Regions from separate parts of the Homo sapiens genome. Here all the other regions are linked to region 1. Evidence: promoter capture Hi-C in 16 types of primary human blood cells and fetal thymus (Javierre and others, 2016). All regions are on one chromosome and are shown on one strand. Each heading gives the region's core, a stretch centred on a gene start or on the middle of the fragment in contact. The rest is flanking DNA. Distances are from core to core; before and after follow the strand shown.

What was found. The method cuts DNA at HindIII sites, captures the fragments that hold promoters and counts their contacts. A CHiCAGO score of 5 or more calls a contact.
Region 2: a fragment that was not itself captured here is called in contact with the fragment with the promoter of ANKRD12 in region 1 in 1 of 17 cell types (total B cells); the score reaches 6.0 in total B cells.
Region 3: a fragment that was not itself captured here is called in contact with the fragment with the promoter of ANKRD12 in region 1 in 1 of 17 cell types (total CD8 T cells); the score reaches 6.0 in total CD8 T cells.
Region 4: a contact is called between a fragment that was not itself captured here and the fragment with the promoter of ANKRD12 in region 1, in 1 of 17 cell types (erythroblasts). The highest score is 6.6, in erythroblasts.
Region 5: a fragment that was not itself captured here is called in contact with the fragment with the promoter of ANKRD12 in region 1 in 2 of 17 cell types (M2 macrophages and megakaryocytes); the score reaches 6.6 in M2 macrophages.
Region 6: a contact is called between a fragment that was not itself captured here and the fragment with the promoter of ANKRD12 in region 1, in 1 of 17 cell types (fetal thymus). The highest score is 6.2, in fetal thymus.
Region 7: a fragment that was not itself captured here is called in contact with the fragment with the promoter of ANKRD12 in region 1 in 4 of 17 cell types (megakaryocytes, M2 macrophages, erythroblasts and 1 more); the score reaches 5.8 in megakaryocytes.

What each region holds. Positions count from the first base shown.
Region 1 is chr18:9,134,960-9,138,302 of GRCh38, reverse strand. It overlaps ANKRD12 (ankyrin repeat domain 12), which reads right to left and starts at 1,522. Exons shown (of 13, transcript NM_015208.5): 1 at 1,338-1,522. It overlaps NDUFV2-AS1 (NDUFV2 antisense RNA 1), which reads left to right and starts at 1,583. Exons shown (of 3, transcript NR_110772.1): 1 at 1,583-1,939. RefSeq lists silencers at 755-804, 845-1,244, 1,455-1,804, 2,155-2,244, 2,247-2,420 and enhancers at 1,375-1,424, 1,915-1,964. The HindIII fragment of the contact is 1,483 bases long and covers 422-1,904 here.
Region 2 is chr18:8,624,753-8,628,095 of GRCh38, reverse strand. RAB12 (RAB12, member RAS oncogene family) reads right to left here. Exons shown (of 6, transcript NM_001025300.3): 2 at 3,098-3,158. Among named protein-coding and RNA genes, the nearest start is that of RAB12-AS1, 9.9 kb to the left of the region's middle. The HindIII fragment of the contact is 4,106 bases long and covers 1-3,343 here.
Region 3 is chr18:9,608,229-9,611,571 of GRCh38, reverse strand. The region is part of intron 2 of PPP4R1 (protein phosphatase 4 regulatory subunit 1); the gene reads left to right. Among named protein-coding and RNA genes, the nearest start is that of PPP4R1, 4.7 kb to the left of the region's middle. The HindIII fragment of the contact is 675 bases long and covers 1,496-2,170 here.
Region 4 is chr18:8,729,928-8,733,270 of GRCh38, reverse strand. All of the region lies in intron 3 of MTCL1 (microtubule crosslinking factor 1), which reads right to left. Among named protein-coding and RNA genes, the nearest start is that of GACAT2, 24 kb to the right of the region's middle. RefSeq lists an enhancer at 2,566-2,860. The HindIII fragment of the contact is 3,262 bases long and covers 12-3,273 here.
Region 5 is chr18:9,529,458-9,532,800 of GRCh38, reverse strand. It overlaps RALBP1 (ralA binding protein 1), which reads right to left. Exons shown (of 10, transcript NM_006788.4): 7 at 1,860-1,967. Among named protein-coding and RNA genes, the nearest start is that of RALBP1, 56 kb to the right of the region's middle. The HindIII fragment of the contact is 2,577 bases long and covers 458-3,034 here.
Region 6 is chr18:8,746,782-8,750,124 of GRCh38, reverse strand. The region is part of intron 3 of MTCL1 (microtubule crosslinking factor 1); the gene reads right to left. Among named protein-coding and RNA genes, the nearest start is that of GACAT2, 41 kb to the right of the region's middle. The HindIII fragment of the contact is 2,669 bases long and covers 222-2,890 here.
Region 7 is chr18:9,489,752-9,493,094 of GRCh38, reverse strand. All of the region lies in intron 1 of RALBP1 (ralA binding protein 1), which reads right to left. Among named protein-coding and RNA genes, the nearest start is that of RALBP1, 16 kb to the right of the region's middle. The HindIII fragment of the contact is 3,051 bases long and covers 264-3,314 here.

The sequences.
Region 1 (3,343 bases), core at 273-2,772:
GACCTCAGGTGATCTACCCACGTCGGCCTCCCAAAGTGCTGGGATTATAGGCATGAGCCACCGCGCCCGGCTGTGCATATGTTTTTAATACACAGTTAATTTACGATAAAATAGCTATTTCACTAGCCTTTCTTTATAATTTACATAAACCATTCTAAAATGAAAACGAAATACATGACTGCAGATGCAGGCTCATTTCAACTTTAGGATTAGAGGTAATTCCGAACCATTACATACACAGCACTGGATCTGCAACACACTTCACCTTAGTTCGCAGTTTAACCACGGGTGTCCAGTGGAAATTACAATCCCGGTGACTACACTGCTTTAAATGTTTCCTAAGGTTTCAACGAGTGCAACAGTAACTTCCTATCCCAGACAGCGTCTTACTGTTATTACTAAAACAGCTGTCAGCTAAGCTTCGCATACCTCTTTGTACAACCGTTTATTCAACGCTTTGGGATCTGTAAGGATGCGTCACTCCACATCACTCCTCAAAACGAGATCTAAGAACCTGACGTGCTCCAGGGGTCTTGAAGCATCACAAGTGGGTACTTGAAAAACGATGACGGGAACTGCCTGTCCAATGCGGCAAGGTTATTTTACACTGGCATTTAAGACAGAACTGTAGAGTGGCTGCTCTTTCCCCGGACACTACTAAAGCAGCAATTTCCCCTTCTTGATTTCATCCACCTCTCCCAGGACCCGGGTACCTCCGACGCTCCCGGCCCGAGCGGCCGCGGCAGACTCCCCGGCGTCGGCGCACGCTCGGCGGCTGGCGGCGGGAACGCGCGGCGGGCCGGGCGCGCCCCCGCCCCCGCGGGTCCGACCGCCGCACGCCAGCGGCGCCCTCTCGGCCGCGCACACTCACACTCGCACGCACACGCTCCTCCGGCCCCGCCATGTTCCGGGAGGCGGCGGCAGCCCAGCCCCGCCAGCCGCGGTGAGGGGCGCCCGCGACGAGGCCAGCTCGCGGCCCTCCGCCCGGCCCCCGCCCCGCCCCGCGCAGCGCCCCCGCCCAGTTGGCGGCTCCCACCTGCGCCGCGGCTCCTCGCGACGCCGGGAGGGGCGGCGGCGGGCGGGGCCCCGGCGGACCCGCGCCGGGGGGCACTAACGGCCTGTCACTGTCAGGCGAGCTACGGCTCGGGCCAGGCTGGGCGGGCGGCGCGTCGGGACCGGGGGGGGCGGGCAGGGCGCGTCCCCTACCTTGCTCTGGGGAGGGGGAACGGGAGCAGCGCAGAACTGAGGGGATCTCCTCCCTGGCGCCGGGGACAAGCTCGAAACCGCGCCCCTCCTTCCTCCTTTCCTGTCGCCACGCCCCCCTCACCCGTACGGACCCGAGGCAAGGCCGGCGCAGGAGGCTTCACCCCCGGAACGAGTGCTTCGGCGTAGCCGTCGCTGTCGTTGTCTTCGTCGCCGCTGCAGCCGCCTGTAAAGCCGCCGGAGCCGGGCTTGAAAACATCTCCGGTCTCGGTCCGTCTCTCACCACAGCCTCCTCGCTCCCAGGACAGCGTCGCCCCGCGATTGGCTGCGACGCGAGCACGTGACACCCGCGGACACGTGACTACCGCGGGCACGGGACGGGCGGCGTGACCGCCCCGCCCCCCGGCGCCCGCCCCTCCTGCTGCTCAGCCAGGCTCCGCGAGCCGCAGGGCGGGGAAGCGGGACGTACCAAGCGGCAGGCGGCGGAGGGGTGCGGGCCGGAACTCCGCCCTTCGTGCTGGTCGGTCTCCACGCCCCACTCGGACTAGTGTCACCGCCTCCCCGCCGCAGACACTATCCGACAAAGGAGGGGGAATCAAAGGCTGGGCGAAGAGGCAGGGCAGGCGCCGGTGACGCTGCTGGGCAAGCGGGCTCTGCAGTAGCATTTGTGGCGACCGTGGCAGTGGCTGTGACTGGAAGCTTCTGGAAATGGCGGCGATGAGGACCCCCACATAGGGTATTCACCTGTTATTTTTACACGGGGTGGGTGGACGAGCGTGATCCAACTCAGGCAAAATGACGCTGCGACCGCAGCCCGAGGACTAGGCGAAGTTCCCCCGCTAAGCCGGCGGCGGCCGTCTGGCCCCGCACCAGGCCGGAGAAGCTGCACCTACGCCCAGAGCCCGCGGCCCCCCGCCTCAGGTGGGGCCCTGGGCCCCGCCCCGAAAGCGCGGTAGCGTGCACCTGCCCTGGCACCAGGGGGTCTAGAGCGCGTCCCCTCCCAGCCACGCCTTCCAGTGGCCTTTTTAAAGAGGAATTCAGTGCACCCTCCCACACGTAGTGTTGGGGATTTGAGAGGGAGCTGCTCAGGTACTAGGAAGGGTGCCGGAGGAAAATTGACCGTCGCAGCGTGGCAGCAGCGTGTACTCACTCCCTTCTGGGCGCGTTATTTACGTAGAGGTTAATCTGCAACAACAGCGTCTGTTTATGACTTAGTGCATGCAGTTACAAGTTTATGTTACACTGTCCTTTAACGTCTTGATGAACTGAGGGTTCAGGTGTGATCACAGCAGATGAAGTGACATTCAGACCTGACAGGGACGGCGAGGTCCCATCAAATTACTATGTAAAGCATAAACCTGCATTAAAGATCAGGAGTTTTTCCTTTCCTGGGTTCCTGATTTCTCCCACCTACAAATCTTTAGGGTCAACAAGACTAGAAAAAGAGCACCTTATGGCTAGAGGTGGAATAGTGTTACATTTAACTTGGTTATTTATGATGTGAAATACAAAGAAAAAAACAGTCGCCTATGAGAAAGTCAGGAGAGCTCCAGGGTAGGACATTTTCATTGTTACTTTTTTGTGCCACTTGGAAAATTAACTGTTGTTTACCTTCTCTCAATTAAAAAAAAAATCTTAAAGACATACTTAAAAATAATCGTTATAGCCGAGCGCAGTGGCTCACGCCTGTAATCCCAGCAATTTGGGAGGCTCAGGCGGGCAGATGGCTTGAGCCCAGGAGTTTGAGACCAGCCAGGCAACATAGTAAGACCCTGTCTCTAAAAAAATATATGAAAATTAACCAGGCTGGTGGCGCCTGCCTGTGCTCCCAGCTGCTCAGGAGGCTGAGGCCAGGGTATTGCAGTGAACCAAGATCACACCACTGCACTCCAGCCTGGGGACACAGCCTGTCTCAAAAAAAAAAAGCATAATTACTAGTGAATAGTCTGTTTCAAGTACAGGTGACTTTGAGAAATCGAGGATTAGATTAATATAAATTATTCATGCATTAAAGCTGGCTAATGCAAAACTAATGTACTACAGCTAATTTCTTAAATACACAAAAGGGTTTATCCTTTTTTCTAAGTTGTAATATCCATACCACTGCAGAGTACATAATCATACTTCCAATCCCTTCACC
Region 2 (3,343 bases), core at 491-2,990, 510 kb after region 1:
TTTGCAAGTTATGAACGTCAGCTCAATCATCGTTTACTACAGTTAGCATGCCACCTTATTCTGATTTTTCTATCTGGTTTTTGTGCAATTGAAAAATTCCTGCAATTCTGTTTTCCCAGTTTGGTGATACAACAACGCTTGGAGAATTCAAAGCCTCTTATTTGCTGTATTTAATATAGCCACTTAAATTATTTAATTACTAATTTTCAGGGCACACGCCAATATAGGGTATGAAATATTCCCCCTCTTCCAAGCAGAGAACAAAAGGAATGATGCTGACCTAAGAACGCTGGTTAAAACAAAGTCCCCCAACAGTGGACTGGTCCGACAGGCAGAACAAAGGGCCCTTATATGAAGCATTTCAATTCTGTGTTTGCCTAAAGGTAAGAGGCAAATTTCACGGCTTCAAGTCCATTTCAACACAACTCCAAGTTCACTGTAAATAATTTCTAGGACACCATTTGGATATAAATTCATCAAACTACATCCTAGTCAACATGTTTTATTTTAGCTACTTACATAAAGTTCTAACATTCATGTAGAAATACTTTAAAGTACAGAGAAGAGAAAAATGGTCCTTTTTCTGACCACAGGTAATCAACAAACTGAAATATGTGGCAATGACATAAAACGTGACGTAAAAATGTAACAGACACCTGCAGCTTTTGGTACTTTTAGCTTTTAGGAATCTATAGTAAATAATGCACTTCTTCCAACAAGATCCTCCTATGAAAACCGAATGGCAATGCTTTCATGCCAGTCTAGAAAATCGGAGCAGAGCTATCTATTATTAGCATAGCACAATCCACTGCGCCTCCTTGAGGGACCGTTTCCAGCTACACAGGCGCCTTCTATGCCCTCAATGGATGAGAGTGAAACGACGACAACACGCCCACAACAAAGCAGGTTACACCAGCAGCAGCACAAGGGCTGTGCCTCACTCCTAAAGAAGCCACGCATTACTTTAAAACAGTAATACAAATTACAATCATGATTCTAACACTTCCTTTTTACCTGCTGCATAGCAATAATGAAGGAAAAGGTTTTCATCTTTTAAATAAAATATTTCAGAAGATAAAAATCTTATTTTGAGTATTATGTGATCAACAAAATGGCTGGCCTGTAGTAGATATATGAGTCACTGTTCAAAACCTTCCTGCAGGAAAAGAGTCACTGGAATATTCCATGTAGAAAACTTGCAATCAACCATTCCGTAAGTCCAATCCATTTCATTCTTCCTCCCTTAGTTACGCTCTTTGCCCATGCTGTACAGCTGCACAGATTTAGAGAATGAAAAAGTAGTAAAGAGTCAAGGGAGAATCAGGAGAGGGAGAGGGGTCATTTGGAGAATGCTTTCATATACAAGAGAAAAATGGTTTCTGAGTGCCCGCTGCTCTTCGTGGAGCCACAGTATCTCACTTTCTCCCCGAGGGGGATTCCATCAGGTAGGGCCCTCTTATCTCAGAGTCAAGGACATTGTAGTCAGATTCCAGGAGTGTACAATGTCACCAGCATAGACTTAGTGGGCAGAGCTCCAGGGAGGCACCAGGACATTTGGACATACTTTATAAATCATTTGGACATACTTTATAAAGAATACTGCCGCCAAAGATGAAGATGGAAGTATTAATGCATTAATTAAGACATGTGCCACAGTCATCAGGCATGGCTGTCACCAAGGCAGGCGTCACACATTCTAATAATGTTTACATCACTTTTGTGGGGCAATATTCTCATCAGAAAGTACCTCACACAGGTACTAGGAACAGAGAGAGGCATATCCCAAATCCTTGTGAAGATGGTCTTTACCTTATAGAGCTTATAATTAGAAACAGCAGCTTGTGTGCCAAACACTTTGTTGCCATTTCCAGCGTTTAAAAGCTGGGCAGCAATGCACAAAAAGTCTGCGGGACTAGCACAGGAAGAAATATCTATTTGTTGTTTATTCAAGTATTTAGACAAGACCTAATGTTTCATAATCAAGCCAAAAATGAAAATATGCAGACCAAATGCACAACAGAAAAGAAAACGAACAAAAACCCAAATCAAAAAATCTTAGAAGTGTGTTATACAGTGAAGGGTGACCAAATGAAGATATTACCTCAGACACCTCCAGAAGGCAGGCACTGCGGCTTGGCTGCAGCTGCGGCCCAGACAGGGACACGGATGAAGAATGAAGACATGGCACTAACATTCAAGCATTAGGTGACCGATGATGCCACAGATGAAGCAGCAATTAACGCAGATGAAAGCAAACACACACATGGTGGACAAACAATCAGAGCTGAGGGTGACCTGCCAAGAGGAGTTAGTAAGCTGAGTACACCGCAGCTGTAGCATTCAAAACAAAACGGCATTCTCAGAGCACCTCAATGGGGCTACTTTTAAGCCACCGCCAGACCACCAGACCAGATCTTATCCCTTCTTCCACAGACAGGTCGCTAGCACCTGCGGGCTGTTAACAGGTTAATAGCTAACAGAAAGCTCTTAGTGCTGAGTGCAGTTATAACACAGCTGGTTGAGTCTCTCATTCCAATTGTGATTTGAGAAAGGGGCCTGGATTCATTTCTAGTAGGCATTAGTGGGGGCTCACATCCCGTGGAATCAGCAGTACAGCCGGAAGGAGTATGCCCACCCGCAGTAATAGTCACATTGTGCCACCAAGAAGCTCTGGAACTGTCTGCAGGGGACCTGCCTTCAGATTGTGCAAATCTGGTTATGAACATATTGGGCTTTCTTTGAATACTATCATACAAAATAAAGACATGAAGACAAACATTTGAGCAATCATTTTAGTGGAGACAGTTTTGATATCACGTAAATAATTTGAAAATAGAGGCAAAAAGGTTCCAAACTAGCTACCATTAAAGTAACATTCTTCTGTCCACAACTGCTCCCCATGTGCAAGTGGCATATAACATAACAGCCTTATCTAAATTCTCTCTCTTGATGGAAACACTGTCCATTTAATTTTAAAATGAGCAAAAGAGGAGAAAGTAGGAGAGGCAAATCAGCTCAAACAGTTCATTTTATTAGACAAGTACATGGACTGTTAAACACACACAGCACATTACTGGGTGCACACTCTCCCACTTACCAGATCTGTAATCTAATTTTCTTTCCTCTTAGCTCTACAGTTTTGATTTTGAAGTCAACACCTGTAAATAAAACAAATAAATGTGAAGCAAAAACAACAAAGATGCAATTTGTCATACAAAATAATCCTATTTGTGTATTTTGTTATCATTATCAGAAAAAAAGAAAACCCCACGAAACCTGACATCACTTAATTCCAAGGAAAAGCAGTATCTGCACCAGTGTCTATAACCTCCCATCTCTCACG
Region 3 (3,343 bases), core at 584-3,083, 470 kb before region 1:
ACCTTTACCCAGAATATTCAGGAACAAAGGACTTTTGGACATATGGCCAGTTGAAGGACCACTTCCCATCTCTTGTGAAGGGAGAAAGAATGAGGGGGAACACTGGGCCATGGTGCCTCCTTAGAGAGCAAGATGGTTGGTAAAGGACTGAGACAGCTGTCACATCCTGGAGAAGCTGGAGAAGGTAGAGGACCCAAAGGTAGAGGAACGGAGCTTGGGCTGCCCTTATAACACGGTTGTTATCTCGTGAGCCTGAGTTTCTCTGTCTATGGTAAAACTCCAGAGTATGGAGCCCAACCTCCAGAGTAGTTGTAAACAAGTCCTACTACTTCAGCCAAGCTAGGTGTAAGTTGGCCCTTGGGATGGGAAGAAATTGTTTTCTGGTCAAGCTCTAGAATCTTGGTTGACCTTCCTAAATGCAGAACCTGGACTATGAGGGAAGAGACAGTAAGTTCTGTTGTGCAGATGATCTAGGAAAGGACCTAGCTGGAGTCTAGGACTTGAAAGAGGGGCATTGCCAGACATTGCTAAGAGTCTCAGGTCTTTCGATTTGATTTGTTTTAATCCCGTCTCTGTACAGAGGCACAGAGTCGGGGAAAAGGTTGGTCAAAGACTGACTTGACTGATAACCTTTGGAGGAAAAAAAATCCTAATGAGGGAAAAATGGATGGTATTTGTGTGTGTGTGTGTGTGTGTGTGTGTGTACACATAATTTCATTGAAGGAGTTTCATTAGAACTTAAACTTTTATCAAGTAACTTATAAAGGTAAGTAAATGAAATCATTATCAGGTACTCTTAAATTTAGGAGAATAGGCTGGGTGCAGTGGCTCATGCCTGTAATCCCAGCACTTTGGGAGGCCGAGGTGGGCGGATCACGAGGTCAGGAGATCGAGACCATCCTGGCCAACATGGTGAAATGTCTACTGAAATACAAAAAAAAATTAACTGGGCGTGGTGGCGTGCACCTGTAGTCGCAGCTGCTCAGGAGGCTGAGGCAGGGGAGTTGCTTGAACCCAGGAGGTAGAGGTTGCAGTGAGCCAAGATTGTGCTACTGCACTCCAGCCTGGCGACAGAGCAAGACTCCGTCTCAAAAAAAAAAAGTTTAGGAGAATAATGCAATAAAAACCATATGTATTTAAGTTTAAAAGTGAAACTTTCAGTACTGTATCATGAAATACTTTGAATTTCAAATTGAAAGCAAACCAGTGACTCCATTTGAACATAGGTTATCTCAGCAGATTTCAGAGTTGGGTAAACCCTTTTTAACTTTTTATATTTAATTATGTTCCTTAAATAATGGGAGACAATACAAAATTGTAGATGTTTAGAAAAAATTATTTCAGATTTCTGTTTTAGTTTCCAAAGATGCAATTTTGATTCACATTTAAGTTGGTAGATTCCTAAAATGAAATGAGACTAAGATACGGTTAAGATTTGATGAGCCAATGCTTGTAAAAATAATTTCATTGAAGGAGTTTCATTAGAACTTAAGCTTTTATCAAAGTAATATGTTGAAGAATGTTATTTTTAAAGAATGGCTATGTAACGCTTAGTTTACAGTGCCTTTCATACACAGGTTATTCTTCACAGCAGTCCTGTGATGTGTAGGCTGTGGTATTCTAATACTAATAAGTAAGTTGACTAATGCCCAAAGGGACTAAAGAAACAAAACTCCTAAGTTTAGACGGAATTTTAAGCTAGGCCTTCTGATTCTAAATATCATATTTTGAATATTTTCTTAAATGGCCCAGTTTAAAATATTGATCAACCCAAACTTGTACAGGCAATTTCTTTGAACTCGTTCTTAAAGTACCCTTGAAAATTAATCTGGGATGCTGCATGTGGTTTAGTTTACACCTGGAGAATGATAGAGAGGATGGAGCTTGGGTATAAGACAGCTTATTTAGTCGTTAACTTTTATCTCAGCTGTAACTAAGTATGACGTTGAAAAGTTTTTGAAGCTATGTTATTGAGTATGCCATACAACAGACTTTTTTCATATTTAAGTTTTGGAATCCTTTTACATTATGCTGTTTTTCGGGTTTAAGGGCGGTGTTGAAGTAGAGTGAAGGATGGGTCCAGAACTAACTGAGGGTAACCGCCTAGACCGCACTCTGTGCAGAATCTTCAGGCCTTCCTACCATGTTTCAAAACCAGTTCTGATAAGCTTAGAGTCCTTGCTTCCGGTGGGAGGTGAGGAGCAAAATATTGGGGCTGTATCTGGTAGTGGCCAGGGAATCATTCAGAAACCTTTGGAAGGTGCCCTTGAACGTGAATCATATTTAGGAGTATTGTTAAATAGGGATTTGGGAGGGTGAGTCGTGAGACCTGGTAGCCTGTTTTGACTGCTGCCAACAAGCCTGGATGGAGAGATCTTTATTTAGAGATAATATCATTGATATCTTAGAAAAGAGTGCTTTTAAAATGGTTTCAGTGGTACCCACATGTGTGTTGGATCAATTAATGATACCTCTGCTAACAACTTCCCACATAAAATTGAAAGAGAGAGAGAGAGAGACAGAGAGAAAAACCCCTTTGTAAATATGCTTGGGCCTGTAGCTACACGATCCACTGCCCTCCCCCCTCCAAAAAATAAAAAACCAAGACACCTAAATGCATACTTTTTGTTTGTTCCTGCCTGTGAAAGATAAATAGACCTCAGGAGGTAAAGTTCAGAAGTCTGCTGCCACATTTGTTTGATCTCTGGTTTATTATTTCTGGTCCTTTTCTCTCAGTCTCCTCAAAACAATGAATGTATGTTTATTAAACTATTGTTACCTTGCTCCTATGTTTGTATTACATCTTTTTTTTATATTTTGGAGTAAAAGAATTTGAAAGTTCCTAAATTTGAATTAGAGTTGTGTTGTTGTTTTTAAATTGGAGCTGAGAATAAACCTAACTTAGTGTTTTGGGCAGAAGTCTGGATGGCACACCTATGGAATTTTGGCTGAGGAGGTATTCCCTCTAATTTCTATAAGAGGGTCTGGAACTTGCTCTGCTTTTAGCACAGATCTTTGAGCTGGTGACATCATCAATGCTGCTTCCTCCACATTCATTTCTTAACTCTCCTAACTTTTAAGTCATCTTAGCTTCTTATCTCCCTAGACTAAGGAGCAAACTTAACTTACTTTCTGGCCTTATTGATATGAATGTGGTTGGTATTTGAGCATCTATCATGCAGTCATTCTGGAAGATACCTCAGTATAGTTTTGTGTAGGGGAAAGAACACTGGGCTTGGTAAGCCTTTAGACCTGAGTTAATATTCTGGCCCTGCCATTTATTCTCTTTATAATCTGAGCAAGTTAACTTTTTCTCAGCTTTCTACCTTTAAAATGTTGATGG
Region 4 (3,343 bases), core at 393-2,892, 410 kb after region 1:
GAAAAAAAGCTTTACTAATGCCCATGAATAAACACAGAAGATCAAACACTCCCCGGCCTCGTCTCACCTCAGCCCCCGAGGTGGTCTGACAGTCCCGAGGGCTGCCCTGCGCCCTGGCTCCCAGGCACTGCGTCCTCAGCTCTCACCTTCCTCCCCCCTGCCAGGAGAGATGAGCCACGTGTGATGCGAAAACAACTGGCAACGGTCTACCCGCAACTGTTGAGTGCTAAACAGTACACAGATAGATGTCTGATCAATGAACACGGCTTTGCCTGGGCAACCAGAGCACATCCGCACCCAAAGATGAACAGTGTCTACGTTCAAATGCCAACTGCCTGATGAATGCCCTCCCCATTTCCTGCTCCCCTTGTCCCAGGAACACTGCTGAAGGTCACACGAAAGCATATCTACGATGCAAGGAACAAACACACACCTAACTGCCCCCACCCCCAACATTCTTTCAGGGGAGAATAACCACCCTGTACAAACAGCCATGGGGAGCGGCACCCTGCCAGCACCTGGGGTCCATCCTCTCTCTGGGGCTTATTCTCAGGTCAGAATTCAAGTGCTGCCTGATTACCTGCCCAACAGGGAGACATTCAGTTGGGCTGTGTAACTATGTATGGGTGACTCGGCGTCTTTTCAATGCGAATGATTTTTTATTACCAGGGAGAAAAAAACAACACAACTTGCTTATTTGGCTCATAATCATACCATTTCAACGTACGATGGCTCACTTGAGTCTGAGCAACACCAAGAAACAGCACTCAGGCCGTAGAGAATCCTATGGAGTATTTTCTAAGCATTTCTATTTCTCTGACTCTTGATTCTGCACTTGAAGATAAAAGTTACCTAAATTAGCCAAACACGGCAGCTCACCCCTGTAATCCCAAAACTTTGGGAAACTGAGGTGGGAGGATTGTTTGAGCTCAGGAGTTTGAGACTAGCCTGGGCAACATGATGAGACCCAGTCTCTACTAAAAAATAAATAAATAAATAAATTTAAAAAATCAAAAAAATTAGCCGGGTGTGGTGGCACACGCCTGTAGTCTCAGCTACTCGGGAGGGTGAGGCAGGAAGATCCCTTGAGCCCAAGAGGTCAAGGCTGCAGTGAGCCATGATCCCTGGGCAACAGAGCGAGACCCTGTCTCAAAAAAAATGAAGATTAAAAGAATAAAGTTACCTAAATTATATTACATCAATAACATGACTTGTAGCATATAAATTCAACAGACCCCAAGAGAATCAAATACAAATTTTGAGGCGGGACACAGTGGCTCACGCCTGTAATCCCAGCACTTTGGGAGGCTGAGACAGGTGGATCACTTGAGGTTAGGAGTTCAAGACCAGCCTGGACAACATAATGAAACCCCGTCTCTACTGAAAATACAAAAATTAGCCAGGTGTGGTGGTGCACACCTGTAATCCCAGCTACTCAGGAGACTGAGGCAGGAGAATCACTTGAACCTGGGAGGCAGAGGTTGCAGTGAGCTGAGATCACACCACTGCACTCCAGCCTGGGTGACAGGGTGGGACTCTGTCTCAAAAAAAAATTTTTTTTTTGAGAAGAGCAGTAGTTTCTATTTTTCCCATAGCACAGACAATGCTACAAATTTGATGCAGTTTACTGCCTAGTGAAAGTCTAAATTATTCAGAAATATGTGCTGTCTATATTTTAATTATTATTTTTTTTCTTGAGACGAAGTCTCGCTCTTGCCCCCCAGGCTGGAGTGCGATGACGCGATCTTGGCTCACTGCAACCTCTGCCTCCCAGGTTCAAGCGATTCTCTTGCCTCGGCCTCCTGAGTAGCTGGGATTACAGACGCCTGCCACCATGCCTGGCTAATTTTTGTATTTTTAGTACAGACGGGGTTTCACCATGTTGGCTAGGCTGGTCTTGAACTCCTGACCTCAGGTGATCTGCCCGCCTCGGCCTCCTAAAGTACTGGGATTAGAGGCATGAACCATCGTGCCCAGCCTATTTTAATTATCATTATTATTATTTTTTACTTTTTTATCTTTTTTTGAGATGGAGTCTTGCTCTGTCGCCCAGGCTGGAGTGCAGTGGCACAATCTTGGCTCACTGCAAGCTCTGACTCCCGGGTTCACGCCATTCTCCTGCCTCAGCCTCCCGAGTAGCTATGACTACAGGCGCCCGCCACCACGGCCGGCTAATTTTTTGTATTTTTAGTAGAGATGGGGTTTCACCGTGTTAGCCAGGATGGTCTTGATCTCCTGACCTCGTGATCCGCCCACCTCGGCCTCCCCAAAGTGCTGGGAAAACAGACGTGAGCCACCGCACCCAGCCAATTATTTTTAAGAAAAGCAGCAAGCACAGTGTCTGTTTCACTACAAGTCAGAGGTTCCATTCTAACGTGTAGGTAAAATGCTGAAACGCCCTGCACATTATCAGAGATTCCCATCTTCCAAGAAAGGCTGTCTTAGAGAAGGAGAGAAATAGATGGATCTTCAATCTCTCAGGAAGTCTGCAAAGTAATGTTCACACAGCATCGCTGCGTCCAAGGTAGCCATCCCAAGGGTGCCATAATCTGCCCTAAAAGGTCCCCCGGAGCCTGCAGTGCTGTGGGCGAGACTGCACAGGAAATAAAAAGAAGGCAGCTGTACAGCGCACAGGGGACAAGCCGGCGTTGTCCAAGCCCAGCGAGGAGCCTGGCTGACGTTCAGGAAGTTGATGAACAGAAGCGGCTTCGCTTATCACTAACCAAACAGGCCAATTTCATGACTCACAGTCATTGTCAAAAAACTTGACCTACAGTGGAATTACTGGCCTTTATTAACTATCCTTAGGTAATGATATAAAGAATCAGAAATTCCTCAGCAAGAGATTTTTAAATAATGTTTTGGCTCTTTCTCAAGGGAAAAATAAAGATGATAAAACCTTCACCCATGGAACAAATATTTATCCAGCGTTTCATAAGGACGGGGCTGTGTAGAGAGACACAGACATACCAAAAGGCAAAGAGGTGAGTGGGCCAAAATGCCATTGAGGGATCAAATGGGATTCGGATCTGCTGGCTGGCACGGACTCCGCACCAAGAAAGCACTTTCAGGACATATATAGCTAAGTGATCAAGGCTGGGTGGCTCTGGCAGAGATCAATGGAACAGAGCAGAGAACCCAGAAACAGACCCAAACACATGTGCCCAACTGATTTTTGACAACAATGCAAAAGTAATTCGATGGAGGAAAGGTGGCCTTTTCAACAGACGGTGCCAGAGTAACTGGGTGTTCACAGGCCAAAAAAATGAAGCTTGACCTAAGTTTCATAGCATATACAAAAATTAATTCAAAATGGATCACAGACATACATGTGCAATGTAAA
Region 5 (3,343 bases), core at 497-2,996, 390 kb before region 1:
TGTTTTTTTTTTTTTTGAGACAGAGTCTCACTCTGTCACCCAGGCTGGAGTGCAGTGGCACAATCTCGCTCACTCCAACTTCTGCCTCCTGGGTGCAAGTGATTCTCCTGCCTCAGCCGCTGAGTAGCTGGGATTACAGGCGCCTGCCATCACGCCTGGCTAATTTTTGTATTTTTAGTAGAGACAGGGTTTCACTATGTTGGCCAGGCTGGTCTCAAACTCCTGACCTCAGGTGATCCGCCCGCCTCAGCCTCCCAAAGTGCTGGGATTACAGACGTGAGCCACCATGCCTGGCCCAAAGGTATTTAAATAGTCAATATTCTGCTTTACCACAATATGCATTTCTAAGATTGGTAAGATCATCAGTCTTATTAAAAGAATGGGGAAAAAATCCCTATCTGCCCAAGATCTAGAGAGCCCCTCTGACCTAGAGAAAAGAAGCAAGGCAGACAAAGCTTAAGAGAGTAACAGAAGGTGGCTGTGGGGATGAGGAGCTGGGTGCGGACGTTCTTTCCAAATGAGCAGGTACTGAGAAGGTAGTTATTTACCATGGTCACATGCCAAAATGAACTACCCACAAACACCAACAGCGCTGAGAACGTCTCTCCAGGAGATGAAGGACACAGTACTGCTCAAATATTTTTGAACACAGATGTCTTTCCTATACCTCTGCATACCTACTAAAGCTGACATTCCAACAAACACCAGACTGAAAAACCCTGAAACAAAGATATAATCTGGGACTCATCCTCTCCTCAAGGAAAACTATGTGCTCCTGAGAGGCAAAACAACGCATGTTTCAGAGGTGACACAGAAGGACTGAAACCTATTGGGCTTCAGGGAAACCACACGAGTTTCTGGAACCCTAGACACACTGTGGTCAGAGCCTAGAACTTCATTCCTTTCTGGTTAAACTCTGGCAATTTCCAGAACAAAGTGAGGCTGACTTGAGAACTTCAGAAAGAAATGAGCTCATCTTCAGCTCTATGCCTGGAATACAGTAGGCACGAAAGGGATATCTGTTAAATCAATGAAGGACTAATAAGACAATTTGCCTCCAACAATTGACTTTCACCTGTAAAGAATAAAATCAAAATATCTAAAAGGTGTTATTAGCAACAACTATTAGATAAAATCTGTTTCTTACATTTCAAGGATTCCAGACTTTGTAATGTCAGGTACAACGGTTTTTAAAATATTTTTAAAAGTCTGATCTCATTAATATGGAACAAGTACCACTAATCTGTAAATTAGGGAAAAGACCTATAATTCGGACCTGTGTGCACACTAAATGAGATTAAACGTCTAGAACAATGCCCAGTAAAGAGTCATTACTGAATATAAGGTAGTTTCTTTCGCCATAACTGAACATTTTAACAAACACAACATAAAGGAAGGGACAAATAAAACAGACACAGGCCCTCAAAATCACTTTATAATTTTGGTTAAAATATTCACATCTGTAGTAGAGCTTCTCAAGTTACTATTTTTAAATGACCATTAAGAGCCTTGCAGGCTGGGCGCGGTGGCTCACGCCTGTTAATCCCAGCACTTTGGGAGGCTGAGGCAGGCGGATCACCTGAGGTCAGGAGTTCTAGACCAGCCTGGCCAACATGGTGAAACCCCGTCTCTATTAAAAACACAAAAATTAGCTGGGTGTGGTGGCAGGTGCCTGCAATCCCAGCTATTCAGGGGGCCGAGGCAGGAGAATCGCTTGAGCCTGGGAGGCGGAGGTTGCAGGTTGCAGTGAGCCGAGATCGCTTCGACGCACTCCAGCCTGGGGGACAAGAGCGAGACTTTGTCTCAAAAACAAAAACAAAAAAGAGTCTTGCAAAAGAGAGAAAAAGATTTTAGGTTACCTGAGCAAGGAGAATATTTATAACTTCTTCATTTTCATTCATCTCTTCTTTGGAAACATCCTCTTTTGAAAGACTGGCTATCTCTTGTGCAATCTTGGTTTCACACTCCTGTCAAATAAGACAAATAAAAAAGAACTAGTCAGCCCATATGTAACACATATTCAACAAATCACACCACCACCAATCTACACGTTTCCTTCTCATTTCCTAGAATTGAAACAATAACAGTCAGATGAACCATCTAGCTGGATGGGCATTTGGTAACTGGGCTTGGAATATAACATGGAGATCTGAGTCTGTGCCTGCACTGTGAAAAATACTCAATTCTGGTGAATGTACTTGCCATTTCTGGTACCCTTCCACAGAAATTACCTATTGTAATACTTAGGGAGGGTGTGGTCAGGAGTGTAAATCTTGAGCACAGAATTTAGTGTTCACAAACATAAAGTCAAGTAACCAGCACCACCATCATGCTCTAGAACGTTTCCATTGCCACACAAAGTGCCCTTGGGCTCCTCCACCATCTGCCGGCATCTAGCAACCCGTCCTGGTCTCCATCGCTGCAGTTTTTCCTTTCCTTGAGTTTCATAACTGAATCAATCAGTAAGTAGTGTGATTATCTGGCTTCTTCCACTTAGCACAATGCTTTTAAGATTCATCTACTTGTCTGTCTGTATCAGTAGTTGCTGAGCAACATGCCATGGAATAAATGTACCCCAATTTGTTTATCCATTTACCAACTGATGGACATTGGGGTTCCTTCTAGTTGTAAGCTATTACAACTAGAGCTGTTAGGAACATTTCGCACATGCTTTGTGAGGGCAAATGCTTTCTTCTCTTAGAGAAATACCTAGGAGTGGGAAGCCTGGGTGCTATGGTAAGTAACCGCATGTTTAGCTTAATAAGAAACTGCCAAGCTGTTTTTCAAAATGGCTACACCATTTTGCATTACCAAGAGCAACCTATTCTAGTTGATGTATACTGTTATCTCAGAGTACTTTTAATCTGGATTTCCTTAATGACTAATGATGGTGAGAGTCTTTGCATGTGCTTGTCATCTATATATGATCTTTGGTAAAGTATTTGTTCAAATTTTTGCCTTTTAAAAATTGGTTGTTTTCTTATTAAACTGTAAACTTTAAAAAAAAAATCAAGTCCTTTATCAGATACAAGCTTTTGCAAATATTCTGTCGCAGCTTCTGGCTTGGATATTTATTTTCTTAATATCTGTTGAAGAGCATATTTTTAAATTTTTGATGAAATTCAATTTATCAAATTTTTCTTTTATAGTTTATAATAGGTTTTGTATCCTATTTAGGAAATTACTGCCTAAGCCAAGGACAGTAAGATATTTTCCTGTTTTTTTTTTCTTCTGGAAGCTTTTTTAGTCTTAGTTTATGATTCATTTCAAGCTATTTTTTGCATATGTTGTACAGATAAAGTTTTTTTCTTTGCATCTGTTCCAGCGCTGTTTGTTGAAAAGA
Region 6 (3,343 bases), core at 307-2,806, 390 kb after region 1:
TTGCAGTGAGCCGCGATCACACCACTGCACTCCAGCCTGGGTGATGGAATGAGACTCTGTCTCAAAATAATATAAATAAAAATAAAAACAAATATAAAAAATAAAATGACATTACCATCCAGCTAACAGCAACTTTAATATTCCCTATGGGTTAACAGAAACAAACTGAAAATACAGTTTTATGTTAGTCTTAGTAGTAAAGTTACTCTTAGAGCAAAGCTTTATTTTACTGAAACATCGAAACAAGTTTATAGCTGGGTCCCAACAACTCAGTTTTACAGTTGCAGACACTGAAGTTCAAGCCATTAAGCAACCTGCCCGAAGTCCCATAGTTGCCAAGGAAAGAATAGGCCCCCATGTCTGTACGATCCAGGATCATGCCCTAAGCCCTGTTCGCTGGGGTCCAGGGCCAGGGCCAGTGGGAGGCACTGTGCTTACAGGTATTTACAGGTGGCCAAACCCCATCCCTGTGCTCTTGTCACTCTCTCGGGCCCACCATTGGATCTGCCCAAGCTCAGGCTCTGCTTTCTTCTCACTTAGGCCACGGCCACAGCCTCTCCACTGGCTCTGTCTTCTCACTTCACTCTTCCTCCACTTACCTTCCAAAGATATAACTGCCCATATCATTCTCCCTTGAAAAACCTCCTGTGGTTTTTCAACCACAGCACCCTCTGCCTTCAGAGTGCATCGAACACCCTGAGCCAGGACCCTAGATCCATGTGGTCCGTCCGCAGCCAGCCTGGCCTCTCCATACACCTTGCCTCCTGCTATGGTGACAGCATGGCTTGCAGCCCCAGGCTGGCCAACTCTTAACCTGTCCCTACTGTCCTCCCCACCCTGATATAGTGTCATTACTGGTAAGGCCTGAGGCAGCGGCAACTGCATTTGGGGGTGCCACAGCACACCTGTCATTCTCCAATTGCTCTCCCATGCCTTTATGAAATGAGCTTGCAGATGCTGCATAAGAAGGGATGTCCCAGGAATGGAAAATGCTGCTGGCTGATCGAAGGCTCCACCTTTTAATGCTGCCAAACAAATAAAATATCTCACAAGGTCATCTGAGGCAAGTCCAGGGTCTCCATTTATAACAGAACTAAAAGTAGAGATGATGTGTGCCATTTTGACGGCAGCATCATGTGCTAGCAGAGTGAACAGAGGACACCCCATCTGTCCTTGTGCACAAGAAACTGCTTTGAAGGAACTCAATCTCTTAGGTGACTGTGATGACCCCCAAGAAGGAGCTGTGATCACCTGAACATAAGATACAAAGGTCCCCTGTCAGTTTCATTTTACAAACCACATGGCTTCCTTCACTGAAGTCTTGCCTCAATCCAGTGACTTCATCCCGAAAGACAGAACTGGCTAATACCCTGAACTCATGTTAATATTACTATTAACGTTAATACAAAAATATATATGTATATATACACACACATGTAGAGTCTTCAGAATTTATTTACATATATATAAACTGAATTTATTTCGGGGAGTCACGAATATATATATTCAGAATATATATATGTGTGTATATGTGTGTGTGTGTGCATATATATATATACACATACATACATATATTTGGAGACAGGGTCTTGCTTTGTCACCCACCCAGGTGAGAATGCAGTGGCACAATTATCATTTACTGTAGCCTTGATCTCCCGCGCTCAAACGATCCTCCCATCTCAGCCTCCCAAGTAGCTGGGACCACAGGTGCATGCCACCATGCCTGGCTAATTTTTAAATTTTGGTAGAGATGGTGTCTCACTATGTTGTCCAGGCTGGTCTCCAATTCCTGGGGGCTCAAGCGATCCTCCTGCCTTGGCACCTACTAATATACGAATATATTTAGTGTTGTGAGGCCTCTTCAAGAAGACCTACCTGGCAGCTTTGTGCAAAACTGACTGCAGGGGAGGGATGGGGGCAGGGGTCCGGCTTGGTGTGAGGTCTGGGCACCTCAGTTCAGTGCAGGCAGAGAGACTAGAAAGCAACAGGGCAGAACCAGGAAACTGTGTGAGGGAGAGAGCTGACAGGGGTGCAGAGCCCCAAGTGAGGCGGCCACAAGCAGTTCTGAGGGGTATGGTCTGGGGACGGAAGACCAGGGGCACCAACATGACCTGGAGGTAGGACACAGAGCTTAGGTGTGTGGGTGACAACCAGGCAGCTCTCCTCACAACCTGCCAGTGGGACTCCAGCATGGGGCACACAAGGAGGACACAATGAGGACAGGAGCCTGTGCAGGGCTGCTGAGGCTATCCATCTGGAGCCACTCAGGAAAAACACAATGCAGATAATTATTAACAAAAAACAGAAAATGCGAGCCCACTGATCCTGTCCTCGCAGGGCAGGGCAGTGTCAGATTCCAGCGAGACTTCCTTAGGGCTTACTCAGCTTCTCTGTTTTCCTGTATGTTGTGGGCTGAACTATTTCCCCAAGAAGATATGTTCAAGTGCTACCCCCAGTGCTGGGGAATATGGCCTTATTTGGAAACAGAGTCTTTGCACGTTTAGAGGAGGACCTACTAGACTGCATGGGCCGGATCCAAGATGACTGGTGTCCTTATAAGCTGAGGACGAGACACACACACAGAGAAGGCAGCTGAGACTCAGACACACAGGGAAGAGGTTGTGTGATGACAAAGGCAGAGGCAGAGATTTGGGTGGCTCAGCCACAAGCCAGGGAGCAAAGCACCAGGCATGGAACAGACTCTCCCCTAGGGCCTTTCCAGACAGCGTGCCCTGCAGGCACCTTGATCTTGGACTGCAGCCCCCACCACAGGCCAGGGAGCAAAGCACCAGGCATGGAACAGACTCTCCCCTAGGGCCTTTCCAGATAGCATGCCCTGCAGGCACCCTGATCTTGGACTGCAGTCCCCACTGCTGTGAAAGAATAAGCTTCAGGTTCTGAAGCCGTTCAGTGGGTGGGCCCTTGGTTGCAGCCGTACTAGAAAAGACAGAGTCAGTACCTGTGTGGACCAGTGGTGTCCAGACCACAAGAGGCATGGTGTGGGCTCTGGACCTGTCTCTCCAAAAAGCTGACCATCTCTGATTTCCACCTGGAAGAGCCGGGCCAACACAGGACATCGGAAGGGTGAGCATCGTCGCGATACCCAGGCCCCAGGTGACGATGCTCAGTGTGGGTGGAGAGACGGAACTGGCAGTCCAGGTTCTCCAGCTAAATCTTAAATGGGCTTCCCTGTCCCATTCCACTTTTGTCTCCTTTCTTTGAGAATAGAACTGCCCCCACTCCTACCACCCTTTTTGCATTTATTGTAGGTGCACGCGGTCCTCGGGTATATATTCATGACTGTTGTTTGATATAATGAGATAATTATCTGTTTAATAATCCC
Region 7 (3,343 bases), core at 540-3,039, 350 kb before region 1:
CATTTTGTTTAAATGGGCAAAAGACCTGAACAGGCACCTCACCAAAGATATGTAAATGGAAAATAAGCACATGAGAAGATGCTCAGCATGCTATATCATTGGAGAACTACCAATTAAAACAATGTGATACTACCACATACCATTATTATGGCAAAACCCAAAATGCTACCACCACCAAATGCTGGCAAGGATATAGAGCAACAGGAACTTTTATCCATGGCTGATAGGAATGCAATATGGCACAGCCACTTTGGAAGAAAGCTTGGCAGTTTCTTACAAAACTAAACATACTCTTCCTATATGATCCATCAATCGCACTCCTTGGTATTTACCCAAATGAATTGAGAACTTATGTACATGCAAAAACCGGCACATAGATGTTTATAGCAGGTATATTATAAATCCCCCCAAAAAAGGCAGCAATGGATAAACTGTGGTATATCCAGATAATGGAATATTATTTAGTGCTAAAAAGAGATGAGCTATCAAGTCATGAAAAGATACAGAGGAAATGTAAATGCATATTACTAAGTAAAAGAAGTTGAGCACAGTGGCTGACAACTGCGATCCCAGCACTTTTGGAGACCAAGGTGGGCGGACTGCTTAAGCACAGCAGTCAGAGAACAGCCTGGGCAACATGGCAAAACCTCATCTCTACCCAAAAAAAAAAAAGAAAAAATTAGCTGGGTGTGGTGGTGCACACCTGTAGTCCCAGCTACTTGGGAGGCTGAGATGGGAGGATCACCTGAGCCTAGCAGGTAGAGGCTCAGCAGTGAGCTGAGATCCCAGCGCTTCACCCCAACCTGCACGACAAAGCAAGACCTTGTCTCAAAAAAAAAGACGTTAATTAAAAAGGCCATATGACATTCTGCAAAAAGCAAAACTATAGAGACAGTAGAAGGATTAGTAGTAGCCAGGGTTTAGGGAGGAGGAAGAAATGAATAGGTGGAACACAGAGGATTGTTGGGGCAGTGAAGCTATTCTGTATTGGTACTTTAGTGGTGGACACATGTTCATTATTCATTTGTCTAAACACACGGAATGTACAGCATACCAGGAGCGAACTCTAACACAAACGCAGCTTTAAAAATAAAGTCTATTTTTGTAAAAGGTTAAGAAACACAAAAATACTACAAAAAAATGACACATTACCTTGAAAAAAAAGAAAGACTTAAAAGACATCAACCAATTGCCATGTATAGAGCTTATTTGGATTTTGATTTGAAAAAATTGTTAGGGGCCGGTCATGGTGGCTCACACCTGTAATCCCACCACTTTGGAAGGCCAAAGCAGGCAGATTACCTGAGGTCAGGAGTTTGAGACCAGCCTGGCCAACATAGCAAAACCTCGTCTCTACTAAAAATACAAAAACTAGCTGGGCATGATGGCGTGCACCTGTAATCCCAGCTACTCAGGAGGCTGAGGCAGGAGAATCGCCTGAGCCCAGGAGGCAGAGGCTGCAGTGAGCCAAGATCGTACCACTGCACTCCAGCCTGGGTGACAGAGACAAACTCTGTCTCAAAAAAGAAAAGAAGTGAAAAAATAGTTAGGAAAAAAAGTTATGAAAATCAGAGAAATCTGAATATTAATTCAATATTTTATATTAAGAAACAATTGTTAATTTTTGTTAGTGTGATCACTGTGTTGTGGTTAGAGATACACACTAAAATATACCTGGATGAAATGATATGACATCTGGGTTAATGTATGGGATGTGGTACCAGAGGACTTGGGGGGACAAAGGGCTCCATTTGGGTCCTACTTAAATTTTTGAAAATATATATATTAATTTTTATAATTTTCTTCAAAAAAATTTCCTAAAAATGAGATTGAGGAAAAAATTACCTTAGATTATTAACTACTGATATAGAATAACAAGTAGGTCTAATATCACCCACGATAGTTAGAGAAAATCCTCAGCTGACAATTCTAAGTAGAAGTTTCCTTAATAGGTGATCTGTAAACATTTAAATGTAGAGAGCTGCTCAAAAGTTATAAAGTGGTCAATTATCTTGGTTGGGTAAGTAAGAACCACCACCCCATGAAGATTTCAGTTAAGGTGTATTGGTTCGTTTTTATGCTGCTGATAAAGACATACCAGAAGTTGGGAACAAAAAAAGGTTTAATTGAACTTATGGCTCCACATGGCTGGGGAAGCCTCAGAGTTATGGCGGGAGGCTAAAGGCTCTTTTTACATGGTAGTGGCAAGAGAAAATGAGGAAGAAGCCAAAGTGGAAATCCCTGATAAACCCATCAGATCTCAAGAGACTTATTCACTATCAGGAGAATAGCATGGGAAAGACTGGCTCCCATGATTCAGTTACCTCCCTCTGGGTCACTCCCAAAACATGGAATTCTGGGAGACACAATTCAACTTGAGATTTGGGTGGGGACACAGCCAAGCCCTATCACAAGGTAACATTTTAGAGGAAAGAAATGGAAAATAGGAATAAAATTACTGTCTAGGATATAAAGGTACTGCGTAAGAATTAACAGCAGCTCACATTTGTAATCCCAGCACTTTGGGAGGCCGGGGTGGGAGGATCACTTGAGGCCAGAAGATGGAGACCAGCCTAGCCAACACGGTGAAACCCCATCTCTACTAAAAATAGAAAAAATTGCTGGGCATGATGGTGCACACCTGTAATTGCAGCAACTCAAGAGGCTGGGGCATGAGAATCACTTGAACCCATGAGGCTGAGGTTGCAGTAAGCCAAGATCATGCCGCTGCATTCCAGCCTGGGTGACAGAGTGAGACTCTGCCTAAAAAATAAATAAATAAATAAATAACAACAGCTGCTGCATTATTTCCTGGAATTAAATAAAATCTGGAGACAGAAGTAAAAATACTAATCTTACGCAGGCAAAATAGGCCAAAAGTCAAGATTTGGAATTAAAATGTTACATAGTAACTAAACTCTTTACTTACATAGTGAATTATTTTGATTAAAGAAAAGCAGAAAGTAAAAGCACTATTTACTAAACCATGATAATAAAAGTTCAAATTAAGTTGTTAAAAGTAACAATCATTATTTGTTTAAAAAAACTTGTTACACACACCACACACACACATTAGCAGATTGTTCCTGTCTTGTAACTTATATTCTATAACTCGTTATCATCATGTAAAACTATTCCATCATTTAGACCTAAAGGAAGGAAATGATGCTTTTATGGCTTCAGTTGACTACAAAAAAATTTTATACAATCATAACGCTTCTAAGACATTAATTTGAAAAGTAACCTGAGGAATATCTGAAGAAGCAAACTCTAATGTTGTAATACAGTTTTTTTTTTCCTTAAAATGCTAAGCTTTGTTGAAAAACTTAGAATTTTACCCACT